Regions from separate parts of the Homo sapiens genome. Here regions 2 and 3 are each linked to region 1. The links are contacts of gene promoters, found by promoter capture Hi-C in human tissues and cell types (Jung and others, 2019). All regions are on one chromosome and are shown on one strand. The core of a region is centred on a gene start or on the middle of the fragment in contact, and the rest is flanking DNA. Distances in the headings are between cores, read along the strand shown. Region 1 holds the start of NUP37 (nucleoporin 37). Region 2 has its middle 74 kb from the start of LINC00485. Region 3 overlaps LINC02456 (long intergenic non-protein coding RNA 2456).

Region 1 (4,741 bases), core at 644-3,143:
GAACATCTTTCTCTATGGATCTTATCTTTTTTTTTTTTAACATTCAAACTCAATATACTTTCAAAGTTTAGATTTGGTTTGTGTAAGTTCTCTTAGTAGTGAAATATGTTCACTGTCATTCGGTGCAGTTTTGTAGACTAACCTGAAACGTACACGTGCCAATGACCACATAATTATTGCCACCATATGCAATTAGGTTTCCTGAATCCCCATTCTCAAAGGGATTAAATTCTACCACATGCACATAATCTTCACAATCCACAGTGTAGGCAGCATTTCTTGAGGCATCTTGCTTCATCTTGTATGTCAAAATTCAAGCAGTTGTGAAAATTAAATAGCCTTCTACTGGACAAGGTCACGAAACTGTGGATTAGAGCACAGGTACAATTACAATGGTCAATATGTTAGTCATTCAGCAAATGCATCAAAATAAGGTTGTGGTGTTACAATGAGACAGAAAGCTCAAAAGAAACATTTAAAGTACTTATCAAGGGACAGAAACTGCAGGAAAAATATTAAATCTAGTTATTAATGGTTCCACATTTGCTCCACAGCTCTTTCCCATATCTGTGATTCTAGCAGACAATAACACTGCAAAGTTCTGTTTAGATTATCTAAAACAAATAGTATTTCATCTGAAGATGGAATCATTTTAACAGCAAATGTTAATAAAAATTAATAACTTTTATGAACCACTATTTGTAGGTACCATATTAAGCATTTTACTGACATGATCACATCTGGTATCTGTACAAATCTAAAGGCAGGTACTACCTCTGGTCTCCATTTTGTAGATGGAGAAACTGAGGCTTCAGTAGGTTAACTAACTTGCCAAGCTCATAAGCAGGGCCAGGATTTGGAAGACTTCATTGTGTGTGGAGAACCAGCGCTAATGAAGAAAAAAACAGCCTCCTGGCTTGAAGGAGACCACAGTTTAGGGATAGTTATGACTCAACGTGAAAAGGGCTATAATATAAACAGATAGAAAATACAGGATCTGTTGTTAAGGAGTACCAAAATGTGTGATATAAAAATAATGTTCAGGGGGTTGGGCGGAGGGAGAGCATCAGGATAAATAGCTAATGCATGTGGAGCTTAATACCTAGGTGATGGGTGTGCAAACCACCATAGCACACGTTTTACCTTTGTAATAAACCTGCACGTCCCGCACACGTATCCCGGAACTTAAAAATTAAAATAATAATATTCTTAAAACTAGGCAGAAGACCTTAACCTGTCAGGGACTAGTGTGCATTCTGGAAGTAGCATTCCCACATGAGAATTATGGGTTTTAGAGTTTTTGGTTTTTTAAAAAATTCGACACAAGGGTTGTCCTGAAAACAGCTGGACTCAGTAACAAACATATCAAGCACCTTAAGAGTATGTACTGAGAATGAGTCCCACCTCGAGACGCTTATAAACTAGTAACTTTAGGAATGGACATCAGGGACTGGAGACTTTTGAAGGGTGACCAGCAAGTGTTATGGACACGGAGACAGAGAGGTATAGAAGTGCAAGAGATTCGAGGTCACGAAATTGTTCCGTCCCTACACCTACTGCTCATTAAAGCAGTGGCCGGGGCCTCACCGTACACGTTGGACAGGACTTGCCCCTGTAAAACTACAACGGCAGAGAAGAAGGGAGGGAACAAGATAAGTCTCTGCAATGAGCGCCGACACCTCTCCCCGGGCCAGGCGAGTTCCTCAAGACCCCGCTCCCACCTCCCGGGGCCCGAAGTGGGAAGGAAGAACTCCTGGGAATAGAGTGGCAAGGCTGGGCGGCCGGCAGAAAAGCATCCCGGCCTCTCGGGCTCCCAGCTCGATACGCACCGCAGAGCGCCAGGAACCGACCAGAGGCAGGCTGGTCTTCCTTGGGGGCTGCCGCGACGCGCTGTGGCTCTGCTTCCGGGTCGGAGGGCGAGCGCAGCGATTGGCTCCCGGGGCCTCCCGCGAGGTTTGAACTGTATTCAGCGGCGACAGCGGCGACTGCGGCGGCCGCGGGAGGGCATCCCGTTGGGGATCCTTCCGCACACTGAAGAGTACGTCTTCGGGTCTACCCCTAATCACGTAAGTCTCGCGTCTGCCCTACCTGCCCTGTCGCATTTTTAAGTGGTGATTCAGGCTGTGGCTTTTGAGGGTGTTTTGCACTGTAATACCTCGGTCGTAGCAAAGTGCCGTGGGACCGAAGTATTATGGTGCAGTGACTTGACGCTCGAGCCTGGTTGGGCCTGGGGGCTGTAGGCGGAGTTCACAGTATCTAGCGATGGAGCTGGTAGGTCCTGAGGGTTCGTCTGCAGCTTGGAAGACAGGCCCGTAGAGGCCTGCTTAACTTCCATTAGTTAGGCAGGAAACCTGGGTTCTAGTCCCACTATGTACACGGACTCCAATTCCTCAACTTTCTCCTACTCCTGATTAGTTACAGCCTCCCAAGGAACCTTTGGGACTTGCACTCGAACACTGATAATGATGTTGAGTGCAATTTTTAAATTGAGCACCTACTAAATGCCTGGCACTAGGTGGGTTATGTACTTGTTTCACTAACGTCTCATTCTGTGAGGTAGGAATTCCCTTCCTGGTTTTGCAGGTGAAGAAACTTATGCTCATTAGAGATTTTAAATACCGAAGGACTACAGGTCATAAAGGGGGAGCCTGGAAGTGATATCTGACTCGGAAGTGTAGTTCTTTCAACCATTTCACACTGCCTGCCCAGTGACAATTTTCTGTCTCACAGTTTTTGCTCTAGAGCAACTTGGAATCCAATTTTTTAAAAACAAGTGTTATCGCTGCTGCCTTTGGCTACTGTTTTTTTGTATAGTGCAGCCTGCCATTCAGAGTGCTTGCATATTTATTGTCTCATTGACTTCTCACAAGGGACTGGAAGGCAAGTATTTCTGTGTGATGATGCCTCCACCTAGGAACCACGTGTAAGGCTTATGGCATAGGCTCCCACAGCCAGCTAGCTACAGGAAGAGCTGGGACTAGACCAGGGGTTGGCAAACTGGCTGTGCTGCCTGTTTTTGTGCAGCCAGCTCCTGAGCTAAGAAGGAGTGTTACGTGTTTATATGGTTGGGGGAAAAAATGAAAAGAATAATGTTTTGTGATGTGTAAAAATTACATGAAATTCAAATTTCAGTGTCCATAAAAAAAGTTTTATTGGAGCACAGCTATACTCATTTGTTTGTTTATGTATGTCCATGGCTATTTTCACACTAGAAGGTCAAAGTGAGTAGTTGTGCATGCCTCAAATATTTACTGTTTGTTCCTTTAGAAAAAATTAGCTGATCCCTGAATGAGACTCTTGGTTTTCTGTCACCATAGTAATGCTCTTTTTTTTTTTTTTTTTTTTTTTTTTAAGACAGAGTCTCACTCTGTCACCTAGGCTGGAGTGCAGTAGTGCTATCTTGGCTCACTGCAACTTCCGCCTCCCTGGTTCAAGCGATTCTCCTGTCTCAGCCTCCCAAGTAGCTGGGGTTAGAGGCACACACCACCACACCCAGCTAATTTTTAGTAGACAGGGTTTCACCATGTTGGCCAGGTTGGTCTCGAACTCCTAACCTTAGGTGAGCCTCGGCTTCCCAAAGTGCTGGGATTACAAGTGTGAACCACCATGCCCAGGCAATGCTCTTTTACTTTTAACTCAAAACAACTTAGAAACTCATAATGCATGATAATAGCTAATGTGCTTTTATACATGCCAGGCACTGTTCTAAAAGCTTTACTTGTGTTTATGTCGTTGACTTGTCATAAAACCCTATGGGATAGGGTTTTCATTTTCATTATGAGGAAGCTGAGGCAGGGAAAGGTGATGTAACTTGGCCAAGATCTCGCAGCCAGTAAGTGGTGGAGCCACATTTCAGAATGGCCTAATTCCCAAGTGAGTCTTCATTCATAGCAATCAAATCTCATAATACTACCTTTAAATAATACCAGTAAGTAATTTACTCCTAAAAATGTATTTCAGGCAAAGTGACCATGTCACTGAAGCTGACAGTTCTTCACTTTCTTTTTTCTTTCAAGAGATGAGGGTGATTTTTTGAAGAGAAATACAATTCTTAGCTATTTACTAGGATTTGCATTTATGTAAATAATTAATCTCTAATCTTCTACCTGTATCTTTAAGTTGCATCATAGATTGTGTCTATAATTTAATTATATTGCAAGTGGCATGTATCTTTGCTCTTGATTATACAAACCAAAGTAAACATCTAGGATTCTGTTTATGCCACATAAAAATAGAAGAAAAGGATAGCAGAAGGAGTCAGGAAATGGAATAAGTACAGGAAAATACCCAAAATAAGATGATGGGCATGTGAGTATGTTGAGACTTGAGTACTTAAAGTAGGAAAAAAACTTTTAGCAGGCATGTCTGTAAACTCAGAGAAAGGAATTGGATGCCTTATATAGTCTTGGGTATATGAAACATTGGCACTACCTCAAATTATTTTGAAAGGCTTTTGTGTGCATCAGGAGAAGTTACTTAACATGATGCTTTAAGAACACAGCTTATAGAGTTAGACATATTAAGTTTATGCTGTTTGTCCACTTACAAGCTGAGTGACGTGGAGGTTATTAGGTAAAATAAGGATAATAACAGACCTGTCTTATTGGACACTTATGACAGTCGAGTGAGGTAATCAATATTAAGCTTTTGAAAAGTATCTCCACCAAGTTAGCTCCTAAATATTAGTTATTTTATTGGTTATGTAGTACGGTGTAACAAACCATTTCAAAAGTTAAGGTTT
Region 2 (4,741 bases), core at 1,582-4,081, 630 kb after region 1:
TCACCATGTTGGCCAGGCTTGTCTCGAACTCCTGACCTCATGATCTACCTGCCTTGGCCTCCCAAAGTGCTGGGATTACAGGCGTGAGCCACTGCGCTAGGCCAATCTTATTATTTTTCATGGCCGCGGAGTATTCCACAGTGTGTATATACTACATTTTCTTTATCCAGTCTACTGTTGATGGGCATTTAGGTTGATTACATGTCTTTACTATACTGAATAGTGCTGCAATGTACATACATATGCATGTGTTTTTATGTTAGAATGATTTGTATTCCTTTGGGTATCCACCCAATAATGGGATTTCTGGTTAGAATGGTAATTCTGTTTTAAGTTCTTCAAGTAATCACTACACTGCTTTCCACATTGACTGACCTAATTTACTTTCCCACCAGCAGTGTATAAGCATTCCAGCAAGGGAAACTTTTAACAGTAACATGAATGTGTTAGTCTGTTCTCACACTGTTAATAAAGACACACCTGAGACTGGGTAATTTACAACGGAAAGATGTTTAATTGACTCATGGTTCCACATGGCTGGGAGGCCTCACAATCATGGTGGAAGGTGAATGAGTAGCAAAGTCATGCCTTACATGGCAGCAGGCAGGAGGACTTGTGTAGGGGAACTCCCATTTGTAAAAGCATCAGGTCTCATGAGACTTTTTCACTACCACAAGAAAAGTATGAGGGAAACTGTCCCCATGATTCGATTACCTCCACCTGGCCCCATCCTTGACACATGGGAGTTATTACAATTCAAGGTGACATTTTGGTGGGGACACAGCCAAACCATATCAACGGATCACAGTCTTTTCGTGAAGAATAAAGATAATGTGTGTTTATTTGGGAATGTGGTGTATACTCAGTAGCCATTATCTTTATTCTTCACAATAAGACTGTGAGTAGAATAACAACCTGACCTGACCAGTGGGGAACCTGAATCTTAGAGAAATTAGATAATTTGCCTAAGGTAACCCAGTTAGCCAGTGGTAGGTTTTAATCCAGATTATTTGAGAGCAAGCTTGTACTTGTCAGACACCAGGGGAAGGTCTCAGGGTAGAGGGAAATCAACTATTTATTTGGATTCAACCAATTTAAATGCTGTTTAAGGCTAAGGGCTCCTGTTTCCTTTTGCAAAAACGGGTGTTCTTTCTTCTACAAAGTGTAGTCCATGGCCAGCAACCTTCACATCAGAGAGCTTATTGGAAATGCAGAGTCTTGGACTTTAACTCAACCCTAATGAATCAGAATCTGCTTTTTAACAAGATCCCCACATGATTTGTATGTACATTAAAGGTTGAGAAGCACTGGTCTACACCACAACACACACACACACACATACACACACACACACACACACACACACACACACACACACACAATAGCAGCAGCAAGTTCTGAGGGAAGAAGTAAGTACAGAGATAAAAATTTGGAGTGCAGTCTGTGCTCAAAGAAGGAAGGCCTGTTCTGTAGCCACTGCATTGCTGAGAACTAAGAAGTGAGTAGGTAATGGACACAGTGTGGAGTACTGGATCTTTTACTGGTGACAGCAGCATTTCTACCTTAGCACAATAAACACTTTGGTTCAACCAAAGGGGTTGTTTCTCAAGCATGCATTTGGGGCTTAAGCTTCCATTGGGGTGGACAGCTTGCCGTGGTTTACCCAGGACTTTCCTGTAAGTCCTGCATCCTGAGAAAATCTTCTATTCTGAAAAAACCATGACGGTTGGTTATCCTAGCATCTATCTCTTTTCCTAAAGGGGCAAATAATAAAATTACCTTAGACTTAGATTCTGGAGATCTGAGTTCAGCTTCCAGGATCATCACCTATTATTGCTATTATCATACATGAGCCACTTAAACTTCTCTTTTTCTTATCTGCATAATGAAGCTAATACCAAGCTCCTTTGGTAGCTGAAGAATAAATTAAAAGCTATAGATGTTAAGATCATCAAGACAGGGATGATTTATATTCTATCTTCGTAGCCCTGAATGAAAGTTTGTGAATGCACTTTGTGAACTATGACATAATCTTGTATCCAAGATGTTGCCAGTGTTATAAGAATGTATCTCTCTTGAATACCTCTCTGTCAAATTCTATACAGTCTGTACTGCTCTGATGAATCCTAGTCTCCTCAGAGAAGTCTCCTAACTCACTCCAGCTATAGTGGCTTCTCTCACTTTTGAAGAATCACTTGAAGAAAATTGTTCAGCATTACAAGTTTGTGTTTTGGCCAGGCACGGTGGCTCATGCCTATGATCCCAGCACTTTGGGAGGCTGAGGCAGGAGGATCACTTAAGCCCAGGAGTTTGAGACCAGCCTGGGCAACATAGTGAGATCTCACCTCTATAAAAAAATACAAAAATTAGCCCAGCATGGTGGCATGTGCCTGTAGTCCCAGCTACTCAAAGGCTGAGTTAGGAGAATCACCTGAGCCCAGGAAGTTGAGGCTGCAGTGAGCATGATGGCACCACTGCACTCCAGCCTGGGCATCAGAGTGAGAACTTGTCCACAAAAAAAAAAAAAAAAAAAAAAAAAAAAAAAAGGTCTGTGTTCTGGAGACTTGGCTTCACCACTTAATATTCAAGTGACTTTGGACAAGTTACTTAACCTTGTGAAGTTCAATTGTTTCAGTGGTAAAATGGGAGCAATCATAATAGTACCTGTCTAATTTATAGTTGGGTGTATGGAATAAGATAGTTAAATCTATGCGTACCATAAACTAAAGGCTTAGATATGTTAGTTGCTCTGCTCTGAAATATATTTAATGCTTACTTTCTTAGAATCCTAATTCTTATAGGACCTGCAACTTGGGGATGGAGTCTCTTGTAATAATAATCTTTTTTCAACTTTTTATGTGTTTACTTTGTTCCTAGATTGTAAACACTTTCAGGTTAATAATAATGATATTATCGGCCATGCAGTGGTTCATGCCTGTAATCCCAGCACTTTGGGAGGGTGAGACAGGTGGATTGCTTGAGGTCAGGAGTTCAAGACCAGCCTGGCCAACATGGCAAAACCCTGTCTTTCCTAAAAATAAAAATAAAAAAAATTAGCTGGGTGTGGTGGCCGGTGCCTGTAATCCCAGCTACTCCGGAGGCTGAGGCAGGAGAGTCACTTGAACCTGGGAGCTGTAGTGAGCTGAGATCATGCCGCTGTACTCCAGCCTGGGTGACATAGCAAGACTCCGTCTCAAAATAAAATAATAGTAATAATAACAATAATATCTAGACCACCTCCTCTGAGACCAGCAGCTGTAATAGCATTTTGAGCACTTGTCGTGTGCCAGGCACTATGTAAAGCAAATTGCCATCAGTGAGTGAGCACCTATTGTGAAGCAGGTACTTTACTTAGGTTACCTCATTAACTTTTAAGACATCCCCATGTGGTAGAAATTATTAGCCCCATTTTGCCGATGACTTTTGATGATATGGAAATTAAGTAACTTTCCTGTCAGCCACACAGCTGGGACTCAAACTAAAGACCATTTTATTCCGAAGCTCATGCCAGCCACACAACTGAGATTCAAACTAATGACTGTCTGATTCCAAAGCTCATGCCATTTCTATGTTGCTCAGGGATCCCCAGACCATCTAGTAGTTCTCTGCAAACACATAATAAAGTAGTGCTTCTCAAATGTTAATATAGATATTAATCACCTGGAGATCTTGATGAACTTCAGATGCTGGTTCAGTAAATCTGGAATGGACCCGAGGTTCTGCCTTTTTAGCAAGTTTCCAGGTGGTACTGATGCTGCGGTCCAGGGACCACACTTTGAGTAGCAAGGCTGCATTATTTACTTTCCAATGGGTTGGTTCATAGGTGAAGTCTCTAGGATCTGCATCTTCTGCAGTTCTTGGGGCTAGGTCTAGGGAAGGTGTGAGAGTGGCAGGAGGAGGATATTTGGTGGAACTGAGTAAGTAACCAGTCATATTAAGAACCCAGTTCTTAACTGGGGTGGTCATAATTTGGGACTACTTTTATCTATTTCTCTTAAATTCTGTGGCATTGGATATTCATCAGATATCCCCAATGATCACAATCACCTGGCGTATTTGTAAACCAAAACACTTCCAAGGACTCTCTCCCGGGATGGGGCCTAGTAATTTGTAATTTTACAAGTACTTCAGAAAAGTCTGAAAAACACTGAAAGTGCTATAGAAATTGCAAAGAGCAGGCAATAAATGAGGGGTGATGTAATCAAAGAAGGCTTGGCTGGTAGGGGTCGGGAGGTTGCAGGGGGCCTGGTTAGGGGATGGAGCTCAGCCCTGCAGAATGAGAGAGTTCTAAAAGGGCAAAAGACGGTGGGAAGAGTGCTGGGTGGTGGTGGGGCACATAAACAAGGGTATGAAGATTGGTTCTGCATTTTTTCAGATTCAGTTTAAGGCCTACTGGATTTTGTTTGAAATGCTGTATAAACATCGTGTACATGGGTACATTAAAAATATTATAATAAAAGATTTTAAAAATATTGGTTATATACTCGAGTGACACCAAAGTCACATGCAACCAGAAGTTTGCATAGTATAATAAACCTTAAAAATTGCTGTGTTTCCAACTGCTGGATGAAAACATACATCGGAATGGCTAAAGTTAAAAAGCCCAATGATACAAGAGCTGGTGAAAACGCAAAACCCAATAGGAATTCTCACTCATTGGTATAAATTGGTACAACCACTTTGGACAATTCTTTTATGGTGCCTATCCACGCTGAAATATGCCTTTCCTATGACCCAAGAA
Region 3 (4,741 bases), core at 1,308-3,807, 580 kb after region 1:
TCAATTCAGCAAAAGGATATAACAATTTTAAATGTATATACACCCAACACTGGAGCATCCAGATATATAAAGCAAATATTATTAGAGAGAGACAGACCCCAATACAATAATAGCTGGAGACTTTAACACCCTACTTTTAGTATTGGATAGATTTTCCAGACAGAAAATCAACAAAGAAATATCAGACTTAATCTGTGCCATAGACCAAATGAATCTAATAGATATTTACAGAACATTTCATCCAATGGCTGCAGAATATATATTCTTTTCCTAACACTTAAATCATTCTCAAGGATAGCCCACATGTTGAGTCACAAAACAATTCTTAAATTATTCAAAAAATTAAAATAATATCAAGCATTTCTCTGATGACAATGAAACAAAACCAGAAATTAATAACGAGAAGAATTTTGGAAACGATACAAATACAAGCATAAACTATATGCTCCTGAATGACCAGTGGGTCAATGAAGAAATTAAAAAAGAAATTGAAAAATTCCTTGAAACAAATAATCAAAACACAACATACAAAAACCTATGGGAGACAGCAAAAGCAGTACTAAGAGGGAAGTTTAGAGCTATAAGTGCCTACATGAAAAAAGAAGAAAAACTTCAAATAATAATAAAAAAAAACTAACAATTCATCTTAAGGAACTAGAAAAGGAAGAGTAAACCAAACCTAATCTTGTGTTGTTTAGAATAAAACAAATAGTAAAGATCATAGCAGAAACAAATAAAATTGAAATGGAAACAACACAGAAGATCAATGAAACAAAAAGTTGTGTTTTTGAAAGGTTAAACAAAATTGACAAACCTTTAGCCAGACTAATTAAGAAAAAAAGAGAGAACATCCAGATAAATAAATTCAGAGATGAAAGAGGAGACATTACAATGAATACTGCAGAAACTCAAAGGATCATCAGTAGCAATGAGCAACTATGTGCCAACAAATTGGAAAATCTGGAAGAAATGGACAGATTCCTAGACACATATAACCTACCAACATTGAACCATGAAGAAATAAAAAAACCTGAACAGACCAATAACAAGTAATGAGACCTAAGCCATAATGAAAAGTCTCCCATAAAGAAAAGCCCAGGACCCAAGGCCTTCACTGCTGAATTCTACCAAACATTTAAAGAAGAACTAATACCAATCCTACTCAAACTATTCCAAAAAATAGAGAAGGAGGGAATACTTCCAAACTCATTCTGTGAGGCCAGTATTACCCTGATGCCAAAACCAGACAAAGACACATCGAAAAAAAGAAACCTGCAGGCCAGTATCTATGATGAATATTGATACAAAAATCCTCAACAAAATACCAGCAAACTAATTCAACAATACATTAAAAAGATCATTCATTATGACCAAGTGGGATTTATCCCTGGGATGCAAGGATGGTTCCACATATGCAAATCAATCAGTGTGATACATCTTACCAATAGAATGAAGGACAAAAACCATATGATCATTTCAATTGATGCTGAAAAAGCATTTGATACAATTAACCTCCCTTCATGATAAAAACCCTCAAAAAAATTAGGTATAGAAGGAATATACTTCAACATAATAAAAGGCATATATGATACACCCACAGCTAGTATCATACTGAGTGGGGAAAACCTGAAAGGCTTTCCTGTAAGATCTGGAACACAACAAGAATGCCCAGTTTCACCACTGTTATTCAACACAGTACTGGAAGTCCTAGCTGGAACAATCAGACGAGAAATAAATAAAGGGCATCCAAATTAGAAAAGAAGAACTCAATTTATCTTTGTTTGCAGATGATATTATGTTATATTTGGAGAAATGTGGGGACTACAAAAAACTATTAGAACTGATAAACAAATTTAGTAAAGTTGCAGGATACAAAATCAACATACAAAAATTAGTAGCATTTCTATATGTCAACAGTGAACAATCTTGGAAAAGAAATTTTAAAAGTATCCCATTAACATTAGGCACAGATAAAATTAAATACCTAGGAATCAACTTAACCAAAGTGAAAAGATCTCTATAATGAAAACTATAAAATACTGATGAAAGAAATTGAAGAGGAAACCCCAAAATGGAAAAATACTCCATGTTCATGGATTGGAAGAATGATTATTGTGAAGATGTTCATACTACCCAAACCAATTAATTCCTATCAAAATACCAATGACATTCTTTATAGAAATAGAAAAAAAAATCCTAAAATTTATATGGAACCAAAAAAGACTCAGAACAGCCTAAGCTATCCTAAGCAAAAAGAACAAAACTGGAGGAATTACATTACCTGACTTCAAATTATCTTCCAGAGTTATAGTAACAAAAATAGTATGGTACTGACATAAAAACAGACACAGAGACCAATGAAACAGAATAGAGAAACAAAGCCACACACCTACTGAACTCATTTCAACAAAGGTGCAAAGAACATACACTGGGGAAAAGACAGGCTCTTCAAGAAATGGTGCTGAGAAAACTGGATATCCATATGCAGAAGAATGAAACTAGACCCCTAGCCCTCACCATGTACAAAAATTAAATCAGGATGGATTAAAGATTTAAATCTATGACCTCAAACTATGAAACTACTAAAGGAAAACATTGAAGAAACTCTCTAGGGCACTGGCCTGAGCAAAAATTTATTGAGTAATGCCCTACAAGCACAGGCAACCAAAGCAAAAATGGACAAATGGAATCACACCAAGTTAAACTGCTTCTGCACAGCAAAGGAAACAGTCAATAAAGTGAAGAGACAACCAAAAGAATGGGAGAAAACATTTGCAAACTCTACATCTGACAAGGGATTAATAACCAGAATATATAAGGAACTCAATTTATAGGAAAAAAGTCTAATAATCTGATAAAAAATGGGCAAAGTATTTGAATAGATATTTCTCAAAAGAAGACATACAAATAGCAAACAGGCATATAAAAAGGTGTTCAATATCATTGATTATCAGAGAAATGCTCATCAAAACTACAATGAGATATCATCTCTTCCCAGTTAAAATGGCTTGAATCCAAAAGACAGGCAATAACAAATTCTAGTAAGAATGTGGAGAAAAGGAATCCTCATACACTGTTGGTGGGAATGTAAATTGGTAGAATCACTATGGAGAACAGTTTGGAGGTCCCTCAAAAAACTAAAAATACCATATGTACAAGCAATCCCACTGCTGGGTGTATACCTCAAAGAAAGGAAATTAGTATGTAAAACAGATATTTGCACTCCTGTGTTTGTTGCAACATTGTTCACAATAGCCAAGATTTGGAAGCAACCTACGTGTCCATCAACAGATGAATGGATAAAGAAATGTGATACTTACATACTATTCAGCCATAAAAAGAATGAGATCCTGTCATTTGCAACAACATGGATGGAACTGGAGGCTATTCTGTTAAGTGAAATAAGCCAAGCACAGAAAGACAAACGTCAGAAGTTCTCACTCATTTGTGGAACCTAAAAATCAAAACAACTGAACTAACAGAGTTAGAGAGTAGAAGGAAGGTTACCAAGTCCTGGGAAGGGAAGTGGGTTGTTAAGGGGGTGGTGGGAATGGTTAATGGGTCCAAAATATAGATTGAATAAGATCTAGCATTTGATAGCACAACAGGGTGACTATAGTCAATAATAATTTAATTGTACATTCAAAAATAACCAAAGGAGTATAATTGAATTTTTTTGTAACACAAAGGATAAATGCTTGCAGTGATAGATACCCCATTTTCCATGATGTAATTATTATGTGTTGCACACTTGTATCAAAACATCTCATGTACCCTATAAATATATACACCTATTATGTACCCATAAAAATTAAAAAAACATTTTGAGAGTGATTATGCCTTTTTATTGAAATAATTAAGTGAAAATAGGAAACAAAGATCTGAATGTCATCTACACAGAAGCTCCTGGGACAAGATATTATGAAATTTGTACTCCTTCTAAAACAAAAAAACAAACAAATAAGCAAAACCCAAAATGGTCAACGCTTTGTAATAGTGAGACATTTGAGACACTAAGCACAAAGTCTCCTATACTCTTTCTAAACACCCAACCCTCTTTGCCTACATTGCACCCATGAGAGGATTTGGGGAAGGACAAATAGCAGAAGGTGCTATAATTGGCTATAGAACTTTAAGAGGGGCCTCTTCTAGACCTTCACAAGTTTTTTCATTACCCTACACATCCAGAAGAAAAGCTTTTTTTTTTTTTTTTAAACTCAGCCAGCTACTTGAATGTTGGATCTTCAAATTAAATAAAAATATATATTTAAAAACACCCTCAATAACTAACAAAAAAAATCACTTGGTTATTTGATACATGGACCATGTCTCAATAACTTGTTTATTTCTCCCACAGGATTAAATCTGAGTACATAGTGAATGACCAATCAATCCTCATAGTTTGATTATAGATTATTGACTTACATTTACGAGATGCTTTCTGGAAACTCTCCTATCCCTCAACTCAGAAGTCTGACAACGTGTGTAGAGAAAACCTGTGTCTAGAGCATGCATTGGCTCAGAGCAAAACACACCCAATATTGTCAAACAATTGGTTGTTGACAAAAATTCAACCTTTATTTAATAGGGAAAATGTGTTTGGCAGGTAGAACCCAAGTCCTCGAAGGCTTTTTTTTTATGGTGTATATGTGTTTTATTTGTTTTTATTGCCACATGTATTAAACAGTCATCCTATCTCACCTTGGGTGATTGGAGCCCTCTTCAGTAGGTAGATTCCTCC

The links. The method cuts DNA at HindIII sites, captures the fragments that hold promoters and counts their contacts. A contact is called where the count stands out against the background at its distance.
Region 2: a fragment that was not itself captured here is called in contact with the fragment with the promoter of NUP37 in region 1 in 1 of the 25 tissues and cell types used here (lymphoblastoid cells).
Region 3: a fragment that was not itself captured here is called in contact with the fragment with the promoter of NUP37 in region 1 in 1 of the 25 tissues and cell types used here (dorsolateral prefrontal cortex).

What each region holds. Positions count from the first base shown.
Region 1 is chr12:102,118,221-102,122,961 of GRCh38, forward strand. NUP37 (nucleoporin 37) reads right to left here and starts at 1,894. Exons shown (of 10, transcript NM_024057.4): 1 at 1,830-1,894; 2 at 143-363. The coding sequence starts at 298. It overlaps PARPBP (PARP1 binding protein), which reads left to right and starts at 1,963. Exons shown (of 11, transcript NM_017915.5): 1 at 1,963-2,066. RefSeq lists enhancers at 1,695-1,764, 2,809-3,366. The HindIII fragment of the contact is 7,473 bases long and covers 1-4,178 here.
Region 2 is chr12:102,748,302-102,753,042 of GRCh38, forward strand. No RefSeq gene overlaps it. Among named protein-coding and RNA genes, the nearest start is that of LINC00485, 74 kb to the right of the region's middle. The HindIII fragment of the contact is 3,013 bases long and covers 1,326-4,338 here.
Region 3 is chr12:102,697,529-102,702,269 of GRCh38, forward strand. All of the region lies in intron 12 of LINC02456 (long intergenic non-protein coding RNA 2456), which reads left to right. Among named protein-coding and RNA genes, the nearest start is that of LINC00485, 120 kb to the right of the region's middle. The HindIII fragment of the contact is 7,471 bases long and covers 1-4,741 here.